5 separate regions of the Homo sapiens genome follow, and all the other regions are linked to region 2. Evidence: promoter capture Hi-C in 16 types of primary human blood cells and fetal thymus (Javierre and others, 2016). All regions are on one chromosome and are shown on one strand. The core of a region is centred on a gene start or on the middle of the fragment in contact, and the rest is flanking DNA. Distances in the headings are between cores, read along the strand shown.

Region 1 (4,754 bases), core at 1,210-3,709, 330 kb after region 2:
CTCTACATTTATCTCCTAGGTTTTTTTGTTTTCGGAATATTGTGATTTTTAATAAAGACCAAACCAACTTGAACACTGGTCCCAGGCCAAATCAGATCTTTCTAGTTCACTGATTCAATGGTAGAGAACTTCTACTTGAACATGAAGTTTATTATGACTTGAAGCAAAATCAGGAGGAAAATGATGAAGTAGTCTTTTTGTTGCAGAAAATAATCCGTGGCCGGTGTGCTTGAAACTAAATGATTTCGAAGAGCCATAATATTTCTATAAAAATAAGCAACAACAAATTTTGTAATGATTTGCCAGAAATGTTGGCATAGAGCCCACAATTTGATATTAAACAGTCACAGAGCATTTAATGTTAATAATTTTTAGTTGCTGGGTCATGGGGTGGTATGTAGGGGTGGGGGGGGGCGGGGTCTGGGACTGCAAAGAGGAATACTTAAGGGCTCAGGGAGTAAATATTTACCCAATGTTATGGATGTATTTCAATATTTCAACTGATGCATTCCAATGAAATAACAGCCATGCACAGAGGGGACTATAGAGGCCTTTGTTAACTGACTTTCTCAGAAACAATCCCACCTCCACATGCAACCCAGCTACATTCCTAGCATGCTATAGGAGTAAAATAAAGTGATTCCAATTCTACCCTTACAGAGAAAAAACAACCTCTCCTTCCTTCCCAAGTATTTTAGTGCTGGAGGAATTTCGTAAGTGTCAAACATCAGGTGATAGAGGCTAAACATTGTATTTTAGCTTAGCTAAATGTTATAAAAATATGAAGTCTGCATATGATTTCCCATATAACAGGATTCTTAACTACTCCTTGGTCTCAAATGAATAGTCAGTGTCATTATATTATTACCTTTTAATTTCTTCCTGTGTTTGTTTTATAGATTCGATGGAACTCTGAATGTCTCCCAGTTCTATTCCTTTCTTTCTTCTTGTACTTGGTTTTACTGATTGAGCTAAAAAGACATTTAGAATGAAGTTGAAACTATAAAAATAATCTACAGTTCAATTTAATGTGTCTCATGTAATAAAAATTTTCCTGGGCATTTGTTTTTGTAGCCTAGAGATTAGCATAGTAATATGAATACTCTGCACTTTTGAAGTTTCAAACACATCATTGCAATACTAGAACACTACAAATATATTTAAAGTACTACACATTAGTTGAATTTTGGATGGCACCAGTTTTTTTAACTAATTAAAACAGAAATAATTCATTAGAAATACATATTAACTTGAGGAAGGTATTACTCTCTTCTGTTCCTTGCCCATTTGCCTACCTCTGAAGTCAGCTTCTTGAGCCCTTTTTTCCAATTTTTTATTGTGAGTGTTTAGTTACCTAAACTTTAAATCCCTTTCGACACCACTTCTGCAAATTTTTACTGCCAATCAGCAAGCTGTACATGTTTTTCCAAATTCCCTACATATGCATTCCTTCCTTTCCATTTTTGTTCAGATCCTACTTAACCTCTCTGCAAGTGTCAGCTTTCTCATTTTAAAAATAGGGATAATAATACCAGACTTCACAGGGTTGTTGTAAGGTGTATTTAACATACAGTCTGGCACAAATTAATTACTCAATAAATGTCTGCTGATACATTATAGTAATATAGTAAAGTGGATGACAGGGTGAATTAAGGAGCCAAAAAATCTGCATATATAACATACATATACCTACTTATGGGGTATGTGACCTTAGGCAGGTTAACTTGTGTCTCAGTTTCTTTTCTCGTAAAATGGGAATAACAACAATACAACCAATACTCTCTTCTAACACACTGGTATGCCACATGACTCCTGCTTTTAAACCTTTATTCGGTTCATTCCTCTAACTACTCTAGTATGTTACCCCTACCCCACTCTCCAAGCCTAGATTGCTATAATCCATTAGAAATCTTAATAATTCATCAGGATTCTAAGAACTTTCCCTCAAACTGAATTGAGCTCCCTCTCCTTTAAACTCTTTATCACTTGTCATCTAATTTCTTAGTAATCTACCATTTATTCACTTCTAGTGTTATCTTTATAGGTTAAAATGAGCTCCCTAGTTCAGTGTAAACTCAGTAGAGATTATGGCTTAAAGTTTTTTTTTTTTTGTCATGTCACAAACATCACTTTAATCCTTTCATGATTATATCTCAATGTAGTTCAAGATACTTTACACATTATCTGACTCGAATAAGAATGGAGTACAATTTAAGCTAGCAGTTGCTAAGTTTTATATTTTTATTGTCTGTCACTTCCAAACACTACAGTAATTTATTCTGGAAATGAAAAACATTTTTGAAGCATGGAACTGAGTTCAAAGCTCAAAAAATGCTTCTGAATTCAATCTAGGGAACCATCAGCAATTTTTCAGAGGTTAACAAGGCATAAGAGGTAGCTACTACTAGAGTGTGGTTCTTTTTTTTTTTTTTTTTTTTTTGAGACAGGGTCTCACTTTGTCACCCAGGCTGGAGTGCAGTAGTGTGATCTCGGTTCAGTGCATCTTCCATCTCCGGGGTTCAAGCAATTCTCGTGTCTCAGCCTCCCAAGTAGCTGGGATTACAGGTGTGCACCACCGCACCTGGCTAATTTTTTCATATTTTTAGTAGAGACGGGGTTTCCCCATGTTAGCCAGGCTGGTCTTGAACTTTTGGCCTCAAGTGATCTGCCCACCTCGGCGTCCCAAAGTACTGGGATTACAGGCATGAGCCACCACACCCTGCCTAGAGTGTGGTTTTTATTTAGATGTCTCCCCTTTTTCATTTTCTGTTTCTTTACCTTGCGTCCTGGTCTCACAACTTATCTATGATCTAGAATTGCTTTTGTATCTCAACCCTGCCCCGACCAAAACTCACATAACTTGAGTTAATATGAAAAACCATATTCATATCAAATTGTGTAGTAATTAAAAAGTTAGACTCTCATTAGTCTGCAATAAATATTTTTACCTTCACTTCCAGAGGAGTCTTGAATGTCAGGTTCTGGGGAGGAATAGCCTTTTGCTACTTTCTTCTGTTGCCTGGTTGGCTTATGTTTCATTTTGGGGACGCTAACCTAAAGAAAAAAATAACTATTTTGTGAATTTGCACTGTATTTTGGACTAAAGACCAACTGTGTACAATTGTCAAAATTATCTGCACATAGGCATGATATTCAGAAATAAAGACAATGATGAAATAGTCTAATTCAAATTTAACAAATGTGATGCACTTATGCAATCAAATGATCTTATTTTAATAGGAAGTACTTTGGCACAAATGTCAAAAAGTAAAATACACAATGAAGAGTATACCCAGTCTCTCTCCCACTAAATAGGTACCCATCACTATTAGTTTATATCCAGGGATATTATTATGTATACATAAACAAATATGAATATAGATCCCCCTACCTCTGACTGCACCAGCTATTATTATTCTCTAGTAGAATGTTAAATAATAGAATGTTAAATAATAGTGTGTATAAATCATATTTATTTTGTTCCCAATGTTAGAAACATTCCCACTGAACAATGCTGGGTTTCCAGTAAAACGGTTTATTTACTTTTAATCACATCTGGGTAGTACAGAAAGTATCTTATAATAAATAAAAATGATACCATTATTTTGTAGAGCATTATTTAAACTTACTGAAAGGATTGAAGTGGATGCACAAGATTCAAAAGTATATGAAACCATCAACTATGACTAAATTTTCCTTAGAATAATAACTTTGGACTCTATCCTATTAATAGATTTGTAATTTTGGTGTTCAGTATTAAACTTAAAAACCTAAATGCAAGAGAAGAAACTAGAATCAGAAAGACAAGATGTATTAGTCAGTTTTTATGCTCCTGATAAAGACATTCCCGAGACTGGGATGAAAAGGAGGTTTAATTTGACTTATGGTTCCACATGTCTGCAGAGGTCGCAAAATCATGGCAGATGGCAAAAGGCACTTCTTACATTGTGGCAGCAAGAGAGAATGAGGAAGATGCAAAAGTGGAAACCTCTGATAAAACCATCAGATCTCGTGAGACTTATTCACTACCACGAGAACAATATGGGGGAAACTGCCCCTATGATTCAAATGATCTCCCACTAAGTCCCTCCCACAACACGTGGTAATTATGGGAGTACAATTCAAGGTGAGATCCCACCAAGTCCCTCCCACAACACGTGGGAATTATGGGAGTACAATTCAAGATGAGATTTGGGTGAGGACACAGAGCCAAATCGTATCATTCTACCCTGGCCCCTCCAAATCTCATGTCCTCACATCTCAAAACCAATCATGCCTTCCCAACAGTCCCCCAAAGTCTTAATTCATTTCAGCATTAACCCAAAAGTCCACAGTCCAAAATCTCATCTGAGACAAGGCAAGTCCCTTCTGCCTATGAGCCTGTAAAATGAAAAGCAAGCTAGTTACTTTCTAGATACAATGGGGGTACAGGCATTGGGTAAATACAACTGTTCCAAATGGGAGAAATTTGGAAACAAAGGGGTCATAGGGCCCATGCAAGTCTGAGATCCAGTGGGGCAGTCAAATTTTAAAGCTCCAAAATTTTAAAGCTCCAAAATGATCTCCTTTGACTCCACGTTTCATATCCAGATCATGCTGATGCAAGAGGTAGGTTCCCATAGTCTTGGGCAGCTCCACCCTTGTGGCTCTGCAGGGTATCCCCTCCTGGCTGCTTTCATGGGCTGGCGCTGAGTGTCTGCGGCTTTTCCAGGTGCACAGTGCAAGCTGTTGGTGGATCTACCATTCTGGGGTCT
Region 2 (4,807 bases), core at 1-2,500:
GCTGCCCCTTTCAGGCAGAGTTGGAGGTGCTGCGGAGAAGCCGGTGCCCGTGCGGCTGCGAGTGCGGCTGTGGGTGTGGGTGCGGTATTTGGTGCGGATGCGGGTGCGGGTGAGGGTGTGGGTGCGAGTGAGGATGAGAGTGTGGATGTGGATGTGGATGCGGATACGGGTGGAGCTGCTGGGGCTGAGGCTTGGGTTGGGGCTGAGGCTGGGGTTGTGATTGGGGCTGGGGTTGCGGCTGAGGCTGAGGCTGGGGTTGGGGCTGGAGCTGCGGCTGCGGCTGCGGCTGCGAGGGGGGCTGCTGCTGGACCAGGTGCTGCTGCTTCTGCCGCGTGGATTTGACCGCCAGGATGGCCTGACGATTCTTGTACTGCACCATCTGCAGCGTGATCTCGGCGTTCCAGCCCTGGTCTTGCGGGCACCGAAAGTCGATCTCCTTGCCCTCTGCCATCACCACAGTGAAGTACATGTACTTGCCCTTGCGCTCCACACAGTCCACGGTCTTCATGTTGGAGAAGTGCAGTTCCTTGAGCTTGACCGGCGGCTCGAGGCTGGCGACAGCGGGGCCACTGGGTTGGGACGGCTCGGCCGGCCCCTGCCCGGGCTGTTGTTGCTGCTGCTGCTGCTGCTGTTGCTGCTGCTGCTGCTGGTGTTGCAGCTGCTTGGGCGGGATAAGCAGCAGCCCTTCCTCGGTGAGGATGCAACACTTTTTCTTCCAGAGCTGCAACAACCCGTCGCTGCGCTTCTCCAGCACGCCCTCCTTCAGCGCTTTGCAGCCGCTACTCTCCAGCATCCTCCCAGCATAAGAGGGGCCGCCGCTTGGCTCGGCCTCTCCGTTTCCAGCCGCGCGGGCCGGGGGCAGCAGCAGCAGCCTCGCGCCGTCCTCGCCCCAGCGGCTCCCACGGCCGCCTGCCCGGAGCGCGCAGAGGAGGCTAACACGCAGGAGGCAGAGCGGCGGCGGCGGCTCTGGGTCCCGGCAGAGGGACAGCCGCGTCCTGATGCGCCACAAGGTCCCGGAGCTCCGAGCTGCCGGGCCTCTGCCGTCCTCTTGCGAGCGCTCACTGAAGGGCACTGGCCGGGCCCCCTCGCGGCGCTTTTGAATGGGCCATCTTCCCCACCCCCGAGTGACACCCAGCGGAAAAGGCGGCTCCTGGCGCCCGCACCGCGGGGGAAAGCCCAGCTCCAAGAGGCGCTCGGCAGCCGGCGCACGCCTCATTAACTTGGGGCCTTTCCAAAGCCCGCTGCGTCCACGCCCTCCAGCGTCTCTTGCTCCGCCTCTCGCCGCCCACTTGCTTCCGCGCTCGTTCCCCTGGAAGGCGACCCGGACCCGAGCCCCGGAAACTCCTCTCCTCTACCCAGGGCGATCGCCCAAGGAGCCCTGGCTGCCTGACTACTGCCGACGCTCACAGGGCGCTGCGAGGCCATCCCCCGCGTCCCGCTTCTCCCCGGCCCGCGGGACTCTCTGCTAACAGCCTCAGAAAGTGAGGACGGGGGCGCGGAGGCGGGGGCAGCCTCCAGGCAGTGCTGCCTCTCGGTTCTTGGGAATTAGCCCGGGGGATTCGCGCTGGGCTCCGAGAGCCCGCAGAACCAGCGTCGTGTCCTGGGCGAGCTGGGAGGCCGGGGCCGAGTCCCGCGAGTCCCGCGAGTGTGCCTCCCCCGGACGCCTAGGTAAACAACTGAGCGCACAGAGGCCGAGAGGACATCGTGTCTTCCCACGCATATTCGCTCACGGTCACTAAGTAGCTCTTCTTGGAAAGAGGGCGATTGTTAAAGCAATAGTGCGACTGTCGGGCTTGCCACGGGTGGAGAGAGGCGGACCCACGTCAGGTCGCATCTCGCCTGCTTTTCTCGACCCCGACCGCAGGCGCTAACCCGTCTTCGGCTTTCTTCTTGACCCGTACGGTTTGCAACGTCTCTTAAAACAGTAACTCAACTCTCTACAAACCGGGGTAATATCCGGTGCTGAGATCCCACACTGCAAGGCGCAGTTCCAAACGTCTGGTCGGCCTCGCAGGTCCCTCTTTCCAAGGCCTAGCCAGATCTTGGTTTTGGAATCTCATTTATCTGTGACCTGGGGAATGCAATACCCCCAGCTCCCTCCTACTCCTACATTTAAACAATGCCTATAGAAGCCGCTTCCTGGGAAGTAAGGCATAACCGAGACCTAGCCTCCCGGTAGGGAAGTTCATCCGTTTAGTAAACAGCCCCAACTACGTGCGGACCCTCACGGGGATACGAAGAATTCAACCAGGGCTGGACAAGTCAGAGTGGGCCAAGGTAAGAGTTACGGCTGCTACTGTGCCCACGTTGGAACAGATAGATTAGTTCATCTGCTAGTTGTGTGGCAAGAGCAAAGAATTCAAGAGGGGAAGAGAAAGTGAGAGGAGCTTAGAGAGCTAAGCAAGAATCGAATCCTTTGTGTGTCATGGTAAGAAATTCGAACTTAATACCAAGGTAGTCAGAACAAAGGACAACTTTTATACACGAGGGCGTCCTGAATATTCATCTAAGAAACAATGTCTGATCAAACGGGACAATCCAGCCAGCAATCCTGAGTCCCACCGGATTATGCTTGGCCAGCTTTCTAGCCTTCACATTGTTAATTTATTAGCAATCTTTTCAGGAGAAAGGCAATTATTAAAATTATGTGGACTTCTAGTAAAATTATCTCGAAGATTTACAATTATGTATACCAATAACAAAAAAACTACATGTTTTCTGCTCCCCTGCCTTTGTAGGACAAGTGAGCATTCCAGAGAATTTCTACATGACCAGCTGTTCATTCTTTTAAGAGGATGACATTCTTCAGCTCATCTGGAAAGGATACTTCCTTTAAGTCTGTTATTCACAGTCTCCAAGGGCAGGTGTAGTTGGGAAAGACATTTCATATGGAAAAACAAACTTGATAGGGTAAAAAAAAAAAAAATGAGATGTAATCTGGAGGCCCAAGTCATTTTCTTAGGAGAAACTCAAATGTGTTTGGTGTTATCTAACCTTCTGCAGTTTATCAGTCTGAAACAAATGCATTCTATTCTCATTTGAAAATGTCTGAACAGCCACCAATTTTCAAAATCACCCATTTAACTAGAGACTTTAAAGCCCAGAATTTGCAGTTACGTATTTCAGAATGATTTAGTAATTTTGTGAGCAGCTCAGAGGTTAAGTCTACAATGTCTGACTACGGTGCATTATTGAAAATATCAGTAGTGTAAGGATCCCGTAGATTGGTGATAACTTTGCTCTTGTTATTTCAACAGTTACCACCAACAGTTGGTGACTTAACAAATTAAGAGCATAGTTGCCATATGCTCATATTTGGCAAATATGTCAAAATGGCCATATTTGCCAATTTTTAAGACAATAAATTCACAGAAAATGCATTACAGAAAATAACTTAAAAAAAAAAAAAACAACTTTTGGGCCAGGCATGGTGGTTCACACCTGTAATACCAACACTCTAGGAGGCTGAGGTGAGAGGATCCCTTGAGCCCAGGAGTTTGAAACCAACCTGGGCTACATGGCAAGGCCTCCCTCTACAAATGTAAAAAAAAAATTAGCCAGGTGTGGTGGCATGCGCCATGTAGCCCCAGCTACTTGGGAGGCTGAGGTGGAGGACTGTTTGAGCCCAGAAGTTCAAGGTTGCAGGAGCTAGGATCGCACCACTATACAAGCCTGGGTGGCAGCAAGACCCTGTTTAAAAAAAAAAAAAAATTCAGCTGTATATGCAATGAAAACCTACAAGTCACTGAAAAGTTACTGAAGTTTAGAAAACTAGCCAACAAAATCATTGCTTTGGTAAACAAATTTGAAATGGCTAATTGAAAGTACATTTTACAGCTGGCAATATAAAGTTATCTATCAGCAGCACTGGACAGTTCATTTTCTTCTCTTGGATAAAGTTTATCACTTGGCTTCAAGGACATCACTCAGTTTTCCTTTACATCTCCAGTGTCTCCTCTATGAGGTGCTTTCTCTTCTCTCCAAACTTTTAATGTTGGAATGCCCCAAGTCTTTGTCTTTGGCTCTCTTCTTTATCTACACTCATTCCCTTGTTGATATCCAGTCTCATCACTTTTAATAACATCTATATGCCAGAGTCCCAAATTTATACCCCCAACTTATATCCAACTGCTTACTGCCGAAGAATAAAACACTGAAGTTAAAAAATAATAAACATACCAGGCAAGGGAACACTTACTAGTAAAGCCATTTACTGAGTAGTTCACTAAAGGTTTAAGTCTGAGGGGATTTTAGGTCATAGGAAAAAAAAAAAAAAACTGAAAAAGAACACTCGGATGGTCAGAGGAGTCTGTAATTCATACACAATAGGTTTTAACAAATTCCTACATGGAACTGCTCCAGTTTATAGGTTAGAATTAACTATAGTGAAAAACAGCCTTCAGTTTTTATCAATTCCAGGCCAGTGAGTGCTACTATAAGTTGAAAATTCTCCATTTACACTTCTCTACAGTACGGCTTGTGTAGTCTAAGAAATCAAACATGTGAATGAGCTCCCAAACTATTTTCCTCACTCTAACCTACTCTACCTGCAGCCCCCTTTCTCAGTTGACAGCAATCCTCTGTACAGATGCTCAAACTAAAAACCGTAGATCAGTACTGCCCTTACACCAGGCCAGGAAAGGCCCTTATCCAAGGCCCTGAGCTTTAGGATTGAGTGCTTTAGAGTCAAGATGACATGTCAATCTAGAGAGCATACTCATTCTGCACTACACTCTAGGTACTCAAGACCCCAAATACCCTGCCCAGAATAGCCCCAGCTGTTCCAGGAAATGCATTACATCATCAT
Region 3 (4,484 bases), core at 1,689-4,188, 300 kb after region 2:
ATGTGTTTATCTCTCCCACCAAAACACACACACACACACACACAGCTCACTATCATTGACTGGGAGGTTTTACTTACAGATAACCACTGGACAGCTTAAGCCTCGTGATGACAGTCTTCTTTTGATGTGACAGGAATTACACCTGTTTGGATGAAATCCAAAACCCATATCATAGAAAAATTCACTATGTTATGGTACCCCTCTGTTAAAGTGCCTGCATAAAAGTGTCTTTTTTTTTTAAAAAAAAAAAGGTCCAGTTTATTGAGGCATAATTTACTTATAGTAAAATTCATCCTGTTCAGTCCACAGTTCTATAAGTTCTGATGAGCACATACAGTTTTGTAGCCATCACCACAGTCAAGATACACAACAGCCCATCATCCCCAAAAGTCCATTCATTCCCCTTCATAGTTAATCCTTACCCCAGACTCTATTCCCTGGCAACCACTGATTTCACATAAGCATATAAAATGTTTTCTTCTCTTCCTTTATTAGAGACAGATGAGTAGGGTGAGGTCTGACTCCTTGTTCCCTCTTGATAGGGTTTGACTGTGTCCTCACCCAAATCTCAACTTGAATTGTATCTCCCAGAATTCCCACTTGTTGTGGGAGGGACCCAGGGAGAGGTAATTGAATCATGGGGGCCAGTTTTTCCTGTGTTATTCTCCTGGTAGTGAATAAGCCTCATGAGATTTGATGGGTTTATCAGGGGATTTCTGCCTTTGCTTCTTCTTCATTTTTCTCTTGCTGCCACCATGTTAGAAGCTCCTTTTTCCTCCCGCCATGCTTCTGAGGCCTCCCCAGGCATATGGAACTGTAAGTCCAATTAAACCTCTTTTTCTTCCTAGTCTTGGTATATCTTTATCAGCAGCGTGAAAATGGACTAATACACCTCTCCTGCATCCAAGTGCAGCCTCCCCTGCCCCAGCCATGCTGGCCTCCTCAGTGCCTTGTCCTCTCCACACCTCCGCCCACAAGTCTCATGTCTGTTGAATACTTCACCTAGAACTCTCTTCTCTTCCTTCTGCACCTCATCAACTCTTACTCAACCCTGAGATCTCAGTGTCAACATAATTTCCTCAGAGAAACTTTCCTGATTAGATCAAATCCCTCTACTGTGCACCATGCATATATTGAGGCAGCAATTTTACATTTGTTTATGTAACATTTGATTCATGTCAATCTTCCCCATTTTTAAACTGTGAGCTTCATGAGGGCAGGAATTCTATGAGTTTTGCTCATTGTTTAATCCTGAGTGTGCAGCCCAGGAGGGTACTCAATGAAGACTCAGTAAATGCATATATGTTTCCAAGCCAGCATGGTTCTTGATGTTTACCTTTGACCCTTTAAAGTGTAAGATAAGGTCGATCTTATTGTTTCTGTTTTACTGACTTAATGATTTTAAACCACATCCATAAATTCTTTGACACTCCTCCCTCTAATAAAGAGTGGAGACTAATTCCCCTCACCTAGAGTGTGAGCTGACTCTGTGACTCACTTCTCATGAATTGAATGCAGCAGGAGTGATGTTAAAAGTCACTGTTCTTATCCGGGCTCGGTGGCTCACGCCTGCAATCCTAGCACTTTGGGAGGCCAAGGCGGGCGCATCACCTGAGGTCAGGAGTTCGAGGCCACCCTGGCCAACATGGTAAAATCCTGTCTCTAATAAAAATACAAAAATTAGCTGGGACTGGTGGCACGTGCCTGTAATCACAGCTGTTCCAGGAGGCCGAGGCGGGAGAATTGTTTGAACCCAGGAGGTGGAGGTTGCAGTGAGCCGATATTGTGCCACTGCACTCCAGCCTGGGCAATAGAACTATACTCCATCTCAAAAAATAAAAAAATAAAAAAATGCACTGTTCTCAGCCAGGCACGGTGGCTCACGCCTGTAATCCCAGCACTTTGGGAGGCTGAGGCGGGCGGATCGACTGAGGCCAGGAGTTTAAGACCACCCTGGCCAACGTGGTGAAACCTCGTCTCTACTACAAATACAAAAATTAGCTGCGCGTGGTCGCGGGTGCCTGTAATCCCAGTTACTCGGGAGGCTGAGGCAGGAGAATCGCTTGAACCTGGGAGGCGGAGGTTGCAGTGAGCCGAGATTGCCCCACTGCACTTCAGCCTAGGCGACAGTAAACTCTGTCTAAAAAGCAAAACAAAACAGGCATTGTTCTCTCTTGGGTCAGTCACTGTGGGGAAAGCCGGCTGTCATTTGAACACATCAAGCAGTCCTATGGAGACGCCCACAGAGCGAGGGACTGAAGCTTCCTGCCAGCAGCTATGTGAATGAGTGAAGTGGATCCTTCAGCCTCTCAGGTCTTCAGTATTTTGACTGCAACCTTATGAAAATCCCTGAGCCAGAACCACCCGGTGAAGTTATTTTCAGATTCCTGACCCATAGAAACTATGTGAGAGAATAAACGTTTGCTATTTCAAGCCACTAAATTTGGGGATAATTTGTTACACAATATAGAACTGAAAGAACCAATGAGGGAAGTATGGCAAATTTGAGAAACTTGTTTAAGGTCCCACAACTAGTAAATGGCAAATCTAGGATGCAAACACCAAGTCAGTGTGTCTCTAAAGCCCATGTTCTCTGTACCATGCCATACTTATGTTTTACTTAGTATGGAAGTACTAAGTATGGCATACTAAAGATGCTTAGTACGGCAAATGTAAAAGTCATTTCACTGTGCTATTATAAAATCTTTGCAGATTGGTTCATGTTACAGTGCCAGGAGGTTGCTTTCTGTATTTCCAAAGAAGCTGCTGACTGGAGGAATTTCTGAGAGAATGGTGAGTAAACCGGCAATTCTAATGAAGCATTTTAATTGTGCTTTACTATTTAAAGCATTTCCATGAAGATGTTTTGTTGGAAGAATAGATCAAATCAAGTTTGTTATGAGTTAGAAAAGAGATAACTTGAAAGTGACTTTTTTCTTCAGTTCATCATTATGGCATTGTAAGATAGTTTTCATAGTGTGAATTGATTATACTAGATTTCTCAGTTTTACATATATTTAATATTTATATGCATTAATATTATATATTATTTTAAAATATATTTAAATACTTATATTTTGCATTTATGCAGAAATTGCCAAAATTCAGTATTTTTCTTAGATTTCTTAGTTACCATTTCAAAGGCCCAAACTTTGGAGTAGTCAAAGATTTCTTAAACAAAACACAAGACACACCAAACTTAAAACTTGTATTCTCTACCACTACTCTGATCATACATGCCCTTTTTTGGACATATTCAATCATAATGGAACCTGGCAGCTTTTAACTAATGAGTGTTTTGATGTAGCTTCCAGTCATACCTAATGAGCCATTGTAAGCTATTTATATGTTTGGTGCTTAGTGGTTTTCTAATCTACCCTAATTAGACCTAATATCTTCATCCCATCACCCTGGAATAACTCATTTCCACTTTCTTCCCCTCTGTTTACCTAATCAAATTCATAAAATATTCCTTCCATCTAATCTTTCCATCTTTTTACTTTCTTTATTAAAGCATTTTCACTGGTTTCCTTTCTTACAAGTATTAGACTCTTTGAGATAACTTAAGTAGAGGAATTTCATGGCACACAAAAGTAGGAATATTGCTGGTCCTTGACAAGCTTTGGGATTGCAACCTGAAGAGATTGTCTCTGATTTCATCTTTCTATGTGTGCAGTAGGTTTAATCAAGGAGTTTTTATTCAGTGGCACAGAACATGGAACACTGGTTCTTTCAATAATTTGGCTTTTTTAGAGTCTCAACTCATCCTGGAGCTGGAAAAAAATTAATATTATGCCAAATAACAGCATTTGGGTCTCTTTGGCTAAATTAAGCCCATGCCAGTGACTGCTTTTAAAACTGGATTGTTGGCTGGGTGCAGCTCACACTTGAGGCCAGGAGTTTGAGGCCAGGATAGAAAACATGGTGAGACCCTCATCTCTACAAAGAATTAAAACATTAGCTAGGCATGGTGGTGTGCACTGAGGTGGAGGATCACTTGAGCCCAGAAGTTCAGCCTGCAGTTCAGCCGTGTTTGCGCTCCACTGCAATACAGGCTAGGTGACAGAGTCAGACCCTGTCTCAAAATTAAGGCTGGTGATATCTGTTGATTATGGGATTTTAGAGGAACCAATAAATAACTCTACTCCCATTGGGAGGCAGACAGGGGAGTCAAGCTGAGGGAGTTGGAAAAACTACAGTAACTCTGGATAATGCTTATGCTGAATAGCAGGCCTTAGAGTGCTAAATCGAACAGGCTGGTCCATGCTCCATCTCTAAGTCAGACCAAATGCAGTCATGGTCCTCAACAGCACTGACTCCTGTTCCAGGCCTATGACAGTAAAGCTGACCATGCTTCCCTTCTTTAACTAAGAGAAAGAAAGTGAATGTTGAGCCAAGCATGTGCTGTTCCTCCACCCAACCCAACAAGTAAGTCCCTTTGCCTTCCCTGGGGGGCAGCGAGTGTGACAAGAAGCAAAGAGGAA
Region 4 (4,796 bases), core at 1,844-4,343, 290 kb before region 2:
GTTGATAATCTGTGAATAACTTAAGTCTCTCAGAAGTTTCTCAGCTACAAGTTCCTCTGCACCTACCCTGGTTAATTTTGTGATTTGAATAGTCAGAAGAGATGAGTCAGAGAGGACTTTTACTTCAAACTTTCCACGGGAGTGGGTGTTACTATGGTCTAGGACCTGCTGTGGATGACAGCTGAAGACAACCAAAGCTGCTGCTTTTCAGGCCTGCGGTTGTAGACTAAGAATAAACTACATGCCTGGCCTTGCAATTAAGAGGGCAGGCATCAAAGATGGCTGCAGATCTTCTTGACTCCATGGTGGCAGCAATAGACTATTTGTCAGTTTGGACTTATTTGCATTTTGTAGCTAACCTTGTTCTTTTGGCAAAAGCAATTGGTGCTCTCATGTCAACAGACATTAATCTGACTTCATGATTTTCTAGTAGGAAATCATGGCTTATTCTTAATCCACTAGTTCTATAATTCATTCATTTTTGCTAGCTTATTTTAAATGCATTTACTTATTTATTCCTTTATTAAGCACTTGCTATGTAGTGACATATTGAGAGCCATCACAATAAAGCGGTAAGAATGTGGAAGTTGGGTAAACACGGTTTTGCATCACACTTTTGTAATTTATTAGTTAATAACCCATGTTATTATATATAGGTAATAAGGGCATGAGTTTTAGATCAGGCTGACTGGGTTTTAAAATCTCAGCTCTACCACTTATGAAATCTGTGACCTATAACAAGTTTTCTTTTTTCTTTTCTTTGCTCTGTCATCCAGGCTGGAGTGCAGTGGCATGACTCAACTCACTGCAACCTCTGCCTCCCAGGCTCAAGCGATCCTCTCACCTCAGCCTCCTGAGTAGCAGGACTATAGGCACATGCCACCATGTCCGGCTAATTTTTGTATTTTTTGTTGAGATGGGGTTTCACCATGTTGCCCAGGCTGGTCTTGAATTCCTGGGCTCCCAAAGTGACAAATACCTTTGAGTTTAGCTTCTCTCCATAGTAAAATGGAAAGGATAATACTTACCTTATAGAATTCTTATGGAGAATTAAAATAAGATGTGAATATAAGGCACCTAGCACAGAACCTAACAGACAGTAAGTGCTCAAGATTTATTTCTTTTCCCTCTGACACTAGATCCCAGACACTGCAGAAATAAATATATCTGAGATTTACAACTGCCATAAAAGAGATAATAAACAGGAAGGAACTTAACATATTAAGCCCCTACCTTGTTTCAATCCATGTCTTAGGCATTTGCATGTGATGGTAGCCTTGAATTTAAACTGAACTCATCTTAATTTAGTCATTCATTCATTCCATTTGTTCACTCATCAATAAATATTTATTCAGCACCTACTATGTGCCAGTCATTTGCCTAGGCAGTGGTGACACAGCAATGAATAAGTGGACCAGGTCCTACCTTGAGCTTACATTCTAGAGATCCATAACCTTCCTGCCATACCTTGCTGCACAGATAAAGAACTTTGAAAATTAAAAACAAAAAAAAATATTATTTTCAACTTGGAAATCAGAGAATGCTTCATGGAGAAGCAGAAGTTTGGCCTGAACTTCAGAGAACTTTAGGGCTCAGAGTAGGCTGGGAGAGTGGGTGGATGGAGCAGCTTGCATCATGGCCCAGAGGCCGGGAAGAGCAGGACCTGAGAGGAAGCAGTGAGTTTGATTTTGTTGTCAGGTGGGGTGGGTAAAAGTGAGTAATAGGAAATCTTTTGGAAATGTATATGGAAATCAGATGGTGGTGCACACTGAAAAGCAGGCTGAGGAGTGCAGACTTATGTAGACCACAGAGAGTCATTTAAGTTTATTGAACAAGGTAGTAATAGGATCAGGGATAAGCTTCAGAAATATTAATTGGGCAATAATGTGTAAAATGGATTAAAAGAGGGAAGGACTAGAGACAAAGGAAGAATCAGGAGGTTGTTAATTAAACACTGCTGGTATGTTTGGGGTTTTTCTATGGCCAGTGACAGAAAAGATCACCAGCAAATTCAGGTAAATTTTTCTTTCATCAGAATTTGCAAAGGTAAAAGTGGGCTAAAAACAAAAACAAAAAACAGGAAACAAAACCTGCTTCATCTAAGAATGCATTATATAATATTACATAAATGACAAATTCCTTTGATATATGACAGATATTTAGTGTCTTCAGCAGAACAACTAAATTAAACATAGGAGTGGAGAAAACCTGAGACAACAGGCCTTATGGTATAATATTTAAATTAAGTTGATTCTCAGGCCAGAGCTTTAAAACATTTGCAAGCAAATTCTGATTCCTTGATGGTTTTTTTTTTGGTTTTTTGTTTTTTGTTTTTTGTTTTTTGAGATGGAGTCTTGCTCTTATCGCCCAGGCTGGAGTGCAATGGTGCAATCTTGGCTCAATGCAACCTCTGCCTCCTGGGTTCAAGCAATTCTCCTGTCTCAGCCTCCCGAATAGCTGGGATTACAGGCATATGTCACCATGCCCGACTACTTTTGTATTTTTAGTAGAGATGGGGTTTCTCCATGTTTGTCAGACTGGTCTTGAACTCCTGACCTCAGGTGATCTGCCCGGCTCAGCTTCCCAAAGTGCTGGGATTATAGGCGTGAGCCACCACGCGCAGCCCGATGGTTTTTTGTAACAAAATTTCTATTGTAAAATAAGAATAAAGTTAAACATTTATATAAGAACCCTTGCAAGGTGGCAAATGCCCTCAGTATACTTTTGGTATAGCTTATGCTCTTCCTGGTTGGTATAGGTTGAGAATCTCTAGTCCAGAAATCCAAAATCTAAATGATTCCAAAACTTGAAACTTTTTGAGCACTGATATCACCCTGCAAGTGGGAAATCCCACACCTGACCTCATGTGATGGAATGAAGACAAAATGCAGTCAAAACTGATTCACGAGCACAAAATTACTAAAAACATTAAATAAAATTACCTTCAGGCTATGTGTATAAGGTGAATGTGAAACAGAAATGAATTTTGTGTTTAGATTTGGGTCCCATCTCGAAGATATCTCATTGTATATATTCAAATATTCCAAAATCTATCCCCCCTCCCCGCCCACCAAAACAAATCATGAAATCCTAAACACTTCTGCTCCCAAGCATTTCAGATAAGGGACACCCAACGCGTAGTGCTGTTGTTCTGGGTCAAATTCTCAGTTGATGGAAAACAACCCATTCCCAGACCAGCAGCTTCGGGCAGCATTCTGCCTTCAAAACATTACCTGCCTTTACTACTTTCTCTTGGTTTCTGAAGAATCAAACTCAAACTACCCCAAATTGAGGTAATTCTCTTCTCTCTCCCATCCCCTTCCAACCCAACTTGCTCTTCCCCTTGCCTTTTCATTTAAACAACATTGATTAAGCACCTACTCTGTACCCACTTCCGTATGGATCATCGGGGTCTTGCTAAGTGCACCATTGGCCAACAGAATCTTGTAGTCAACCTCAATTTCTCCTCCCTCTGTCTCTCACATCCACTCAGCAACCAAGACCTGCTGAGTCCACCTCCCAGAAGTCTTTCATACTCATCTGTCCCTCTCCAACCTCACTGACCCTGACCTAGGATAGGCCCTAATTAGTGCAATCCTGAACAATTACAAAGCCTTCTAACTCCTCTTTACCACTCATCCCCATCCCCATCCGGTCCCTCTACAATCCAAGCTGTCTTGCACGGATGGATGCCAATGTGCAATCTTTGAAAACCTTGCTATTCAAGGTGTGGTCCGCAAACCACAGCACCAGTATGGTCCTGCAGCTGGTTAAAAATGCAGACTCTCACAACAGAATCTGCATTTTTAACAGAACCCAGATGATCCATATGCACATTTAAATTTGAGATGCACTGGCTAAAAGCACAAATCCAATCCCATCACTCTCTAGTTGACATTCTAGTGCAAAGACCAACAAATTATAGCACGCAGTCCTAATCTGGCCCACTATCTATTTTTGAGCAGTCTGTGAAGTAAAAAAAAATGCTTGGAAATAAATCAAAAGAAAAATACTATTTTATGACACATGAAATTTATTGAAATTCAAATTTCAGTGCTTAGTTTGATTGGAACACAACTATGCCCATTCATTTATATGAGAGGAGTCTTTTAAAAGTTTATGGAAAATGCGTATTATGAAAAAAACTATGCATGGAGTTCAAATTTTTTTGCACCAAAATAAACTCATGCCAACTGGTTACAACATATCTGAAAAGGATCTAGTTTGAGGCATAAACAAGGATACGATGTTGGTTTGAAAAGAGCCTCTATAAGAACAATATGAATTCTGCTAAAATTGAAGCAAAAACAAACATCAGATTTATGGTGAAGCTTGGGTGGAAGAATGATGAAATCACTGATGCTTTATGAAAAGTTTACAGGACAATGCCCCAAAGAAATCAGCAGTTTACAAATGGATCACTCATCCTAAGAAGGGATGAGATGATGTTGAAGATGAAGCCAGCAGCAGCAGATCATCTACATCAATTTGTGAGGAAAAAATTTATCTTTTTTCCTGCCTTAATTGAAGAGAACTGATGATTAACAGTAGAAACAACAGCCAATATCACAGACATCTCCATTGGTTCTGTTTACACAATTCTGACTGAAAAATTAAAGTTGAACAAACTTTCCACTCAATGGCTGCCAAAATGATTGCACCCAGATCAGCTGTAGACAAAAGCAGGGGTTTCAATGGAAATTTTAAGCATGCAGTATCAAGATCCTGAAGCATTTCCTCTAAGAATTGTAACAGGAGATGAAACAAGGCTCTACCAGTACAATCTTGAAGACAAA
Region 5 (4,567 bases), core at 322-2,821, 280 kb after region 2:
TTTTACTTCTTACTGGTTTCCTTATTAAATAATAAGTGAAATAGACTGGGCGCGGTGGCTCACGCCTGTAATCCCAGCACTTTGGGAGGCCGAGGCAGGCAGATCACGAGGTCAGGAGATCGAGACCATCCTGGCTAACATGGTGAAACCCCGTCTCTACTAAAAATAGAAAAAATTAGCTGGGCGTGGTGGTGGGCACCTGTAGTCCCAGCTACTTGGGAGGCTGAGGCAAGAGAATGGCGTGAACCCGGGAGGGAGAACTTGCTGTGAGCCGAGATTGTGCCACTGCACTCCAGCCTGGGCGACAGAACGAGACTCCGTCTCAAAAAAAATAAATAAGTAAAAATAAATAAATAATAAGTGAAACAAGATTTTTGGCATTGTGTAATTGCATGGGTTTTTTAAAAATTACTCTTCAACATCCTGATTCTCCAGCAACTTATTCATTCCCAGAAGTGAGGGTGGCATTGAATGAGAGAAGAATCCTGTGTTTCTGACTCATCATTTACCCAGAAGAGAGTGAGCTGACAGAGCTATGTGAAAGGACAAGATAATGTTTACCCTTATTCCTGGACACCGAGGCTCTAAATTCGAATTTCTTTCAGTATACAGTTATAACATTACGTTTGCACAGCCACATGTGAAGATGTTGTGGTGCTCCTTTTTTTAATCTTACATTTTTAACTAATTTACTTACATAACCAAAAATGAGAAGAACAGGGAAGAATCCTGGTCTTAGAGAAGCAAGATGGAAAATTAAACGCGAGGGGATCTCTCTGTCTCTCCCTCTACCACTTATTTCTTAACCTGTTTGCACGTTAATTTCCTTCTCCCAGACTGGCTTCTCCACAAGCTGTAGACCTGCTGCTAGCATCTCAACATCTCTTAACTTATATCCTCTGTGGAAAAAACCAAGAACACCATTAGCATAAGCCTTTCAGTAATGCCGGCGTGAAAAGGAGCGTTCTAACTTGGGAAGGAGGGTGGAATTTTTTATAGGGCTTCAGCAGGCAGGGTCAGCTCAAGTTCACTTTGTTTTAAGAACAAAGATGGTTCCTAGAAAAGGAAGGAATTTTCTTTAGCAATTAGCGGTCACTGTTTGGACAACTTGGATTTTACCAAGAGGAGTGGGAGGAACAGTCCGGTCATGTGTGAGCGGCGGGGGTGGGGAGGAACAGCTACAGTGGACAAGGACATGGAGGCCTACAGTGGAAAATTTTCATTTCTTCAGAGTCTCTTACATCTTACAGTCTCAGGACCTTTGAGAGCCTTCTCCCCACTTCAGTCAATCTGACTTGCTTATCCCTGGACCACTCACTGTGGTCAAGGAGGCAGAGTCAAAGAAGAGACTGTTTCTGGTCAGACCTGAAAGCTAGAACAGGGGGAGGAGCCACTCTTTAAAAAGAGGGAGCAGCGGGCTGGGCGCGGTGGCTCACGCCTGTAATCCCAGCACTTTGGGAGGCCGAGGCGGGAGGATCACAAGGTCAGGAGATCGAGACCATTCTGGCTAACACGGTGAAACCCCGTCTCTACTAAAAATACAAAAAATTCTCCGGGCGTGGTGGCAGGCCCTGTAGTCCCAGCTACTCCGGAGGCTGAGGCAGGAGAATGGTGTGAACCCGGGAGGCGGAGCTTGCAGTGAGCCGAGATCGCGCCACTGCACTCCAGCCTGGGCGACAGAGTGAGACTCAGTCTCAAAAAAAAAAAAAAAGGGAGCAGCCCAGACTTGGCTGATGAGGGCATCGCAGTAACAGGGCAGCCCTCGCCTTCCTCCCCATTTGTGTCTACGAAACCCTTCTTTTCCTCCTTCCAGGTGAAAGGCTCAGTGCTGCCTGTCGGGAGCACTGCTTCGAGGAGACCGATCCAGAGAACTTTCAGCCTAGGGAGTACGGCGCGCAAACCCAGCTGAGGTGAAAGTCTCATTGGGGAGCAGCTCCCAGCACAAACTGCTGAAAGGCTGGCCGCAGCCCTGCTGCCCAGATTTCTTCTTCAGCACTCTCTAACTCCCTAGAGCTTTTAAAATGTCCCCTGTGGTCACTCTGTATACCAGGGAAGACAAACGGGTTTGGCTTCATGCCTGCATTGGCAGTGCTGGGTGCCTCTTCATCCTTCTCTCTCTCCTCTTTTTGGCAGAAAAACCCTTTTCAAATATCCAAGCCCCTTCTTCTCTATAAAAAATAAGACAGATGTGAGCTATGAACATCGTTACTGGTGAAAAAATTAAGATTTAGGAAAGGAAATATCTGTCCTCATCATTTTGCCAGAAGAGCAGAGTAGTTACAGTCATGGACTTTAACTCAAAATCCACAGAATTTGAGTCCTGGCTTCCCACTTACTGATTCCGTGACCTTGGGCAAATACTTAACCTCAGTAAGCCCCAGCTTCTTATTTAGGAAATGGGGAATAACATGTACCTCAAAATTTAGGGGAATAATGCATGTAAAGAATATGCCATTGTGTCTGACATATATTAAAATCCAAAATTACAGTAATTTTTGTGATTATAAAAATGATGGTGATAACATGAAAGTAACTAATTAAATAAAATTATGTATATTAAAAATATAAAAATATGATTTTACCACCATCACCACTCCCAATATTAGCATTTTTAAAATAGAATTTTACAATTAAGACCTCAGATGATCTCACGTGGTGGTCAAGCTGTCACTTCTCTAAAGTGGCCTCAATTGCTCCAGGGCCAGAAAGTAGGAAAATTGGAACACAGGAGCGCTGGGCATGACGTCTCATGCCTGTGATCCCAGCAATTTGGGAGGCTGAGGTGGGCAGATCACTTGAGGTCAGGAGTTCAAGACCAGCCTGGCTAACACGGTGAAACCCTGTCTCTACTAAAAATACAAAAATTAGCCAGGGCGTGGTGGCAGGTGCCTGTAATCCCAGCTACTTGGGAGGCTGAAGAAGGAGAATTGCTTGAACCTGGGAGGCAGAGGTTGCAGTGAGCTGAGATGGCACCACTGCACTCCAGCCTGGGCAACAGAGTGAGACTCTGTCAAAAAGAAAGATGAAAGAAAGAAGAAAGAAAAGAAAAGAAAGAAAGAAAGAAGAAGGAAAGAACAGAAAGAAAGAAAGAAAAAGAAAAGAAAGAAAGAAAAAGAAAGAAAGAAAAAAGAAAGAAAGAAAGAAAGAAAGAAAGAAAGAAAGAAAGAAAGAAAGAAAGAAAGAAAGAAAGGGAGGGAGGGAGGGAGGGAGGGAGGGAGGGAAGGAGGGAGGGAGGAAGGAAGGAAGGAAGAAAGAGAGAAAAAAAGAAACACAGGAAACCTCTGCCCTGAAGAATGGGGTACGTAGACCAGGGACCAGGTCCCCTCATTTCAGTGTTACCTCCAGGCTCTGTGTGTGTGTGTGTGTGTGTGTGTGTGTGTGTGTGTGTGTGTGTGTGAAGGCAGGGGTGGGGTGAGCATGTGTGCACGTGGGGATGTGTATGTGTGTGCATCCATGTGCATCTTTGTGCCTGGATCTGTGTATGTTCATGGGATGTGATGATTAAACAGTATGTGACATCAGAAATTATCAACATTGACACTGATTACAGATGCTGGAAAATTAGCAATGTAGAAAGGGGAAATGAAATTTGGCTTAGCTGTGAAAAAGTAATACTAATTACAGTCATTTACATGAGCCCCTCACCATTTATGCTTAATTACCATGCAGCACAATCATAATCATGTGTATCATTAAATACGTGCCCAGTTAACTTTCATGTACGTTGTCTTGATTAGAATGATGGGCTCTGCTCTACTTAGACGTTCTGCTCAGACTTTATAGTACGTGGAGTGTGCAGCTTGGACACTCATTCACGGAGACATTGCTTAAAGTCCCTGCTACTTCAGGGGCTATCAAGAGGGACCTGACTCCCCAGATTCCAGAACTGCTTGCCAGGCTGTATTGACAGGTACTGTAGTTTGAGAAAGCCCTCTCAACCGCATCCCAATGCAGGGAAGAAGAAAGTATTGGACTCTCTCCCTTTTCTTCCTCTCCCATCCCCACAGGATATCAGAGGGCCCAGGGAGCTCACCTCCCACAGCTAAGGGGACATACATAGCTAAAAGGACAGGACACATCTGTACACAATCACTGTCCCCTCCCCCAACCCCCCACACACATCATAAGATAGTATCAGAGAGATACAGAGAGAAATAGAAAGACATGCAAGCCAAGAGACATGGAGAGAGCAAAAAAGAGATGTAAGAGGCACCAAGAGAGGCAGACAGAAGCAGAGACAAGTAGAGAGGCACGCGGACAGAGAGAGAGATATAAAAAGTGGGAGATATGAGAGTGATCTGGCTGTGACATCTGTCACCCCATTGACTGCCAGGGTTGAATTGGCTGATCTGGCAGTCTGGGTGGGTGTCCCCTTCCTCCCTCATGGCTCCATGTGTGTCTCTCCTGAAGCTGTGCGCTCCCTGGAAGAGGACGACCATCCCTGATAGACCGGTCTTCCGTCAAGGCCAAGAGTAACTGCGCTCCCCTGCTAGAACCTCCAAACAAGCTCCCCAAAAGTGGGATAGAGACACAGCCACAGAGGGAGCCAGTTTAGACGCCTTGACAG

The links. The method cuts DNA at HindIII sites, captures the fragments that hold promoters and counts their contacts. A CHiCAGO score of 5 or more calls a contact.
Region 1: a contact is called between a fragment that was not itself captured here and the fragment with the promoter of PHLDA1 in region 2, in 2 of 17 cell types (M0 macrophages and M2 macrophages). The highest score is 5.7, in M0 macrophages.
Region 3: a contact is called between a fragment that was not itself captured here and the fragment with the promoter of PHLDA1 in region 2, in 3 of 17 cell types (M2 macrophages, M0 macrophages and endothelial precursors). The highest score is 10.8, in M2 macrophages.
Region 4: a fragment that was not itself captured here is called in contact with the fragment with the promoter of PHLDA1 in region 2 in 4 of 17 cell types (M0 macrophages, M2 macrophages, M1 macrophages and 1 more); the score reaches 12.6 in M0 macrophages.
Region 5: a contact is called between a fragment that was not itself captured here and the fragment with the promoter of PHLDA1 in region 2, in 1 of 17 cell types (endothelial precursors). The highest score is 6.1, in endothelial precursors.

What each region holds. Positions count from the first base shown.
Region 1 is chr12:76,355,758-76,360,511 of GRCh38, forward strand. OSBPL8 (oxysterol binding protein like 8) reads right to left here. Exons shown (of 24, transcript NM_020841.5): 22 at 2,949-3,054; 23 at 869-971; 24 at 1-264. The coding sequence ends at 132. Among named protein-coding and RNA genes, the nearest start is that of BBS10, 9.7 kb to the left of the region's middle. The HindIII fragment of the contact is 7,968 bases long and covers 1-4,754 here.
Region 2 is chr12:76,030,526-76,035,332 of GRCh38, forward strand. PHLDA1 (pleckstrin homology like domain family A member 1) reads right to left here and starts at 1,251. Exons shown (of 2, transcript NM_007350.3): 1 at 1-1,251. The coding sequence starts at 1,216. The coding sequence ends at 11. It overlaps PHLDA1-AS1 (PHLDA1 antisense RNA 1), which reads left to right. Exons shown (of 2, transcript NR_186034.1): 1 at 1-69; 2 at 386-853. PHLDA1-DT (PHLDA1 divergent transcript) reads left to right here and starts at 1,288. Exons shown (of 2, transcript NR_185978.1): 1 at 1,288-2,277; 2 at 2,739-3,864. RefSeq lists a silencer at 787-936 and an enhancer at 1,157-1,406. The HindIII fragment of the contact is 8,299 bases long and covers 1-4,807 here.
Region 3 is chr12:76,332,727-76,337,210 of GRCh38, forward strand. No RefSeq gene overlaps it. Among named protein-coding and RNA genes, the nearest start is that of BBS10, 13 kb to the right of the region's middle. The HindIII fragment of the contact is 1,359 bases long and covers 2,260-3,618 here.
Region 4 is chr12:75,738,490-75,743,285 of GRCh38, forward strand. The region is part of intron 1 of LOC105369844 (a long non-coding RNA gene); the gene reads right to left. Among named protein-coding and RNA genes, the nearest start is that of KRR1, 230 kb to the left of the region's middle. The HindIII fragment of the contact is 2,472 bases long and covers 1,858-4,329 here.
Region 5 is chr12:76,311,468-76,316,034 of GRCh38, forward strand. It overlaps the pseudogene RN7SKP172. Among named protein-coding and RNA genes, the nearest start is that of BBS10, 35 kb to the right of the region's middle. The HindIII fragment of the contact is 7,990 bases long and covers 1-4,567 here.